Linked DNA regions of Homo sapiens: region 1 is linked to region 2. The links are contacts of gene promoters, found by promoter capture Hi-C in blood cells and fetal thymus (Javierre and others, 2016). All regions are on one chromosome and are shown on one strand. The core of a region is centred on a gene start or on the middle of the fragment in contact, and the rest is flanking DNA. Distances in the headings are between cores, read along the strand shown.

The links. The method cuts DNA at HindIII sites, captures the fragments that hold promoters and counts their contacts. A CHiCAGO score of 5 or more calls a contact.
Region 1: a fragment that was not itself captured here is called in contact with the fragment with the promoter of SRSF3 in region 2 in 1 of 17 cell types (M0 macrophages); the score reaches 5.1 in M0 macrophages.

The regions. Positions count from the first base shown.
Region 1 is chr6:36,851,945-36,855,361 of GRCh38, reverse strand. PPIL1 (peptidylprolyl isomerase like 1) reads left to right here. Exons shown (of 4, transcript NM_016059.5): 4 at 1-533. Among named protein-coding and RNA genes, the nearest start is that of CPNE5, 14 kb to the right of the region's middle. The HindIII fragment of the contact is 467 bases long and covers 1,824-2,290 here.
Region 2 is chr6:36,592,849-36,596,078 of GRCh38, reverse strand. It overlaps SRSF3 (serine and arginine rich splicing factor 3), which reads right to left and starts at 1,717. Exons shown (of 6, transcript NM_003017.5): 1 at 1,598-1,717. RefSeq lists enhancers at 1,430-1,659, 1,260-1,941, 2,050-2,209. The HindIII fragment of the contact is 2,162 bases long and covers 1,264-3,230 here.

The DNA.
Region 1 (3,417 bases), core at 808-3,307, 260 kb before region 2:
TGTGCACGCCCTATTTCAGTCTTTTACATTTGTTCTTCTAGGGAATGTATGCATCTCTATATATATTTTCCCTCTCAAAACCAGAACATCAACAGTGCTGTTTCTGACACTTCAGACATCCCACGCAAAGCCACATTGAATTTTTGCCAAATGAAAAACACATCCAACAATCAAGTTTCTAAGAAGGTGTCAAGTGGGGAATAATAATAATGTATAATAATCAAGAAATTAGTTTATTAAAAGGAAGCAGAAGCATTGACCATTTTTTCCCAGAGAAGAGGAGAAATCTGTAGTGAGCAAAGGACAGACCATGAATCCTCCTTGAGAAGTAGTACTCTCAGAAAGGAGAAGCGCCACTCAAGTTCTTTTAACCCAAGACTTTAGAGAAATTAGGTCCAAGATTTTTATATGTTCAGTTGTTTATGTATAAAAATAACTTTCTGGATTTTGTGGGGAGGAGCAGGAGAGGAAGGAAGTTAATACCTATGTAATACATAGAAACTTCCACAATAAAATGCCATTGATGGTTGAAATTGCTGCTGTGGTCTGATTCTAAATATTGTATGAGGTTCCAATGGTCATTTTAATCCCAGTCATCTTAAGTAGTAGTACAGAGATTGAATGTTCAAGATTTCACATCATTTTAGGCTTGTGGATCTCCAGTAGACTTCTCCCTCTTTAAGAGCAATTCTAACTTTAAAAGGGCAGAACCAGAGAAAGAATTAAGTGACAGAAATTGACATTTCTGAATAAGAGGTGTATTCATCTGTTTTCACATTGCTATAAAGACACTACCTGAGACTAGGTAATTTATAAACAAGAGAGGTTTAATTGACTCACAGTTCCACATGGCTAGGGAGACCTCAGGAAACTTACAATAATGGTGGAAGGCAAAGGAGAAGCAAGCACCTTCTTTACAAGGTGGCAGGAGAGAGAGCGAGCACGGGGGAAACCACCATATTTAAACCATCAGATCTCATGAGATCTCCCTCACTATCGTGAGAACAGCATGCAGGGGGAAAATGCCCCATGATCAGTCACCTCCCACCAGATCCCTCCCTCGACACAGAGGATTACAATTCGAGATGAGATTTGGGTGGGGACACAGAGCCAAACCATGTTGGGGGGATTACCTGTAAGTGAACCAGGTGTATGTGCTAAGAGACCTGCACCATCCCTGGAATTTGCAGAGAGCCCACCTGCACATTATTATGGGACCAGAGGCAGTATATGTTGTGGTGTTTGGTTCCTTAAGCTGGTAGCTCCTTGAAGAGGGGATTATAACTTTAATGTTTCTTACTACTCTATCAATTTTGGAAATGGTGATTTACTTTATGGAATGGCCAAACAAGGTTCTGTTCCCCAAGCCTTCCCTACCTTCAACCTCTTTCTCTACCTTTCTCTTTTCTCTCAATAGCAAAAAAGCAAAACCCAACAACAAACCATATAAATGACTTTGTAACTTCCCAGAGATGGTTTTTGTATGCAAAGTAGTGTTCTACACTCTGGAAAAAATAGAAATGTATTTCTTTCAGCCTGAACTGGGTGGACATAATTGGATCTGCCTCTGAGAGCAAGGAATAGCACCTGTTCACTAACCTCCCAGAATCGTAATCCTGAAAATCTCCACTTTCATCCAAGGCACAGGCGTGGTGGAAACGTATCATGGCTACTCTGAAGCAAAGAAGGTTCTGCATGCCTTGGGAGGAGAGCCACACAGGCACAGTTCCTTGTTTTTGGAAAGGGACACCAAATCCATGCTAAGGCAGTCACGTGGGCACATACCAGTTTTCATAGAGGATATGACCTCAGAGAGTGAAGCTTGAATTGTTTCACAATTTGTGGTTCTGCCAGTTAGCCAGAGTTGTAGAAGTTCCCGTTTCCTTATAAGGGAAGCTCATCTAAAAGGAATCCTGCTTAATTCTTTGGTCATATGAGTGTCTACATCCTGTCAGGATTAGTACCATTGAGACAGGTCTCATAAAAGTGGGGTGTACTAGAGATAGTTCATTTTTGTTACATCTCATCACGGTGAGGGTGGTGAGCTTTCTCCTGGCTTATCAGGAGAAAACAAGGATAAGTTTAAAACTTGGATGGGGATTATTGAAGATAGGTGTGGAGGACCATGGGGGGCTCATCAAGGCACAGGAGAGAGACAGCTCTCTGCTGCTTCTCGTGGGGGAAGGGAAAGAGATTCTAGACATTTGGAGAAGGCTTAAAGTTGGAAGTAGATACACCAGTGGAAAAGGCTTTCAAACAGGTGCCCCTGGGATGATGGATAAGAGAAGCTTGGCACACAGACTATAAAGAATATGGCCCAAGGGCCCTAGCCCAGGGCTTCTCACATGACTACATGCAGGAATCACTGAGGGAGCCTGTTAGGAAGCAGCTTCTGACTCAGCACTCAGCCAGAGAGTCTGCAGTTCTCGCCAGCTCCCAGGAGATGGTGACTGCCGGTCCAGACACCACCCTTTGAGTAGTGAGGTCCTAGAGGTCACATTTGTCCAACATGAAACTGGGGAGGGGGGGTTTCCCTAAGAGCAAGGGCAGTCAGGACCATGAACCAATCTTATGCCTCCTGGAGCAGAGCTCTCCACCTCATCCTGGTGGTCTTGGAAGAGTGAAGAGATTCAAAGCACACGATGAGCTTTAACATAAGCTGCTGGCTTTGGCTACTGGGATTGAGCTTTATGAAAGTGTTCTGTTCCCACAGCAGTACAACATGGACTTCAGACCCTGGTATGTGGCACTGAGATACCTTGTGTGGACACCAGGGTGGGTGAGATTGGGTGATCAGTAGACATCACAGAAAATGCAGGGAAAAGAGCATCAACAAAGATGACATTGGGGGAAAGAGCTCTGGAACCTGACTGTCGGGGTTCAGATCCCAGCTCCACCACTTAGCAGCAGCATGAACTTAAGTTTCTTAATTTCTCTGTGCTTTAGTTTCTTCCACTATAAAATGAGAATAATGGGCCAAACTTCAAGGGCTATTGTGAAGATTAAATGAGCTAGAACAGGTATTTAGAACAGGAACTGGCATTTAGAAAACACCCCCAAAATGCTAGTTGTTGTTACTACCAGTGGCCCTTGAAGCCACCACACACCTGTCCTACCTCTTCATCTCGACATATACACAGCCTGACCTGTCTCAGCCTCTCACCTCACAGCTTCTCCCTCCCACTGGGCTAACCTCTGAGAACAAGGACCTTGTCTTACTCCCCTCTGTAAGTCTTCCCAGCACCTTGTGTAGTAATTTGAGGTTATTGCTGAATGTATCAAATAAAATGTTCTCCATCAGAAAAAGATTGAGATCCTCTTGTAGAAATTGCTGTACCCCAACTCTCCAAACCCAGGCTTCAGCTGGTATGGCAGCCAAGCCTTTCCACTGAGCTCTCTGGAAGTCCTCAGCCTGAT
Region 2 (3,230 bases), core at 468-2,967:
GTGGCGCACACCTGTAGTCCCAGCTACTCGGGAGGCTGAGGCAGAACAATCGCTTGAACCCGCGAGGCGGAGGTGGCAGTGAGCCGAGATCGCGCCACTGCACTCCAGCCTCGGCGACAGAGCGAGATTCCATCGCCAAAAAAAAACCACAAATAAATAAATAAATAAATGCCTATTTTGGTCATTTGGAACTATAGGAACAAGGCTAGTATCAAATGTCATTAGATAGACCAGAGTCTTACGCGGTAAAAATTTATCAAGCAACGAGACCAACTTTACAGTTTTTTAAAAAATGTAAACTCATAGTAGCACTTATTCACAGTAGCCCAAAGATGTTAACCCAAATGTCCATCAACAGAAACGGATAAGCAAAATGTGGTATAGACATAAAATGAGTATTATTCAGAATGATGTACTGACAAATCCTCCAACGTTGGAAAATCTTGAAAACATTACGCTAAGTTAAAGAAGCCAGACATAAAAGTACACGATTCCATAAATACTAAATATCTAAAATAGCTAAGTTCAGAGAGACAGGAAGATTAGTGGTTGCTAGGGACTAGAGGAAGGGGGACAGGGAATCTGGGAGTAAGTGCTCAATGGGTAGTAGTCTCCTGCGGGGGGAGGTGACGGAAATGTTTTGGAACTACGTGTAAGTGATGATTACACAACACTGAATATACTAAATACCACTTAAAGATAATTTCACTTTAATAAAAAATTACAAAGAGATATTTGCTACTAAAAAATTTACTGCACTTTGGGGACTTATTTTTTTGTTCTTCCTTGGCGGACTTGTATTTGATAAAGCTTTATTACTGAGTCACTTCGACGATGAATCTGATAAACTTGTAGACCAGTTTCAATTACATAAAAACCATCTACTCAATAATTCAGCTGAAGTGCTTTCCATAAACACCACGTTCTTCTTACTCTGGGCTTGTCTAATTAAAATATCCAGTCCAGACACATCCTATTTGCCGTGACCACACCCTGTGCCCAGGAGTAAGTTCTAAGACCAAACCACTGGTGAAAATTTTTAAAAACACTGCTGGCACCTGTCTTAAGCCTCCATTTTAATGGGAAGCGATGAAAGAACGAATCTTAAGTTCAAGGAAGATCTTTCGGTCTTAGAAAAAGGTGATTAGATTCAGGCTGCAAAATCTGAAACTACATGAAAGTAAGGTGACTACGGGGGCCATTTAATATGAACTGAAAGGTCCGGTCTTGGTTAGTGACTTTACAAAAACATTCTGAGAAGCTTCCCAATTAAATGAGGGGCCAAAAAAAAAAAAGGCGCCATAAAAATAAAAAGGCCGTGACCTGGAATACAACTCGGCTATCGGCTCCCCTTTGTGGTTCCCAACTCCCAGGTAACCCCCATCCTGGCTCATGCCCCAATGAGGAATATAAAGACTTCCACTCCAAGACTAGGAAACCCTCCGATGGGCCGGGAGCCCCCGCCACCGCCCCGTGCTGAACGTCACAAAATGGCGGCGGCGCCTCTTTGTCTCAATCTGGCGCCGCCATTGGGCCTGGCTCCTTGGTACTGTTAAATTCCATTTCCACCTCATTCCCTCTTTCGCTGGTCTCTTACCGAGATCTAGGGTTAAAAAATGCGGCGGCTCAAATCCACACGCTCCGATGAGTCTTCCCGCTTTCCTCCGGCCCAACACCAACCAACTCTCTCACTCACCCGGCGTCCACGAAATGGCGGACCACCGCCTTCTCCTCGCCTTTATTTATACGCCATACTGGAATCACATGATTGGACGGGCTCCCCCAATGAGAAGCAGAAGAGGCCGTGACGTATGGCTACAAACGCAGCGAGAGCCGCGGTTGCTGGGAGCGCGCTCTGGCGGTTGCGCCGGGTGGGTGGAGACGTGCGTCGGCGCGCGCTCGTTGTAACAGGCCTGGTGCTCCCTCGAGCGTTCCTCCCGGTCTGTCGACCTCCAGGTTACCCACAGACTCCTCTTCCTCACCTCCAAATAGGCTAGGGCTTCATAAACAGCACCGTCGCCGTCACGCTCAAACACTAATAGGAGCCGTTGGCCCCTAACAAGATTAAGAGATGAATTAATTAAGTGCTTCACCCTTGTGAGCGGTTAGTCTGGAACTAAGAGCATCGCGTTTACAAACAGGTCACGGAGCTGTTTGTGACCCAGCTGGCACCAGACTGTGGCCGCCTAGATTCCACACTGAAGGAAAAGCCTGGTTTGGAAAGTTTGCCCAACTCTTGCTGGTTTCTCGTCTCTCAAGCAAACTTGCAGGACTTGGCGCCGACAGCAAAGGAGACCGGTCAGGTGACCTGGAAACTATCACCTTTAGCAAACACCCGGAAAGGGAAGTTTCTGAAGAAGATTGAATGTAAATTCTGGCCCCCAAGCAAATGCCAGGAGGGGTATCTCGAGCCTTTCTCCTAGCAGCCGTTGCACTGCCTGGCATGTATTTTGTCCGGGCCACTTCCCTTACGAAGACAGAGCCGCAAGAGTAATTAAGGGGAGAGAGACTGTGATTGGGTTAGAAAAATCACCAAGGGCCGGGCGCGGTGGCTCATGCCTGTAATCCCAGCACTTTGGGAGGCCGAGGCAGGCGGATCACTTGAGGTCAGGAGTTCAAGACCAGCCTGGCCAACATGGTGAAATCCCGTCTCTATTAAAAATACAAATGGCCGGGCATGGTGGCAGGCGCCTGTAATCCCAGCTACTTGGGAGGCTGAGAGCAGGAGAATCGCTTGAACCCAGGAGGCGGAGGTTGCCGTGAGCTGAGATCCTACCACTGCACAAAAAAAAAAAGAGAGAAAAAGAACCTGTCTTTTTATTTATTCCCTCTTAGCTGAAAGATATGCCAATTATTATGTTTTTTTTTTTCTTTTTTCTTTTTTTTTTTTTCTTGAGATGGAGTCTCGTTCTGTTGCCCAGGCTGGAGTGCAATGGCGCGACCTCGGCTCACTGCAAACTCCGCCTCCCGGGTTCAAGCGATTCGCCTACCTCAGCTTCCCGAGTAGCTGGGATTACAGGCACCTGCCACCACACCCGGCTAATTTTTGTATTTTTAATAGAGACGGGGTTTCACCATGCTGGTCAGGCTGGTCTCGAACTCGCCACCTCAGGCGATTCTCCCGCCTCGGCCTCCCAAAGTGCTGGTATTACAGGCGTGAGCCACAGCACCCGGCCAGCCAATTAATATGTTTTAACTTTCCCAGGTATTTTTCTTTTGAAGCCTTACCT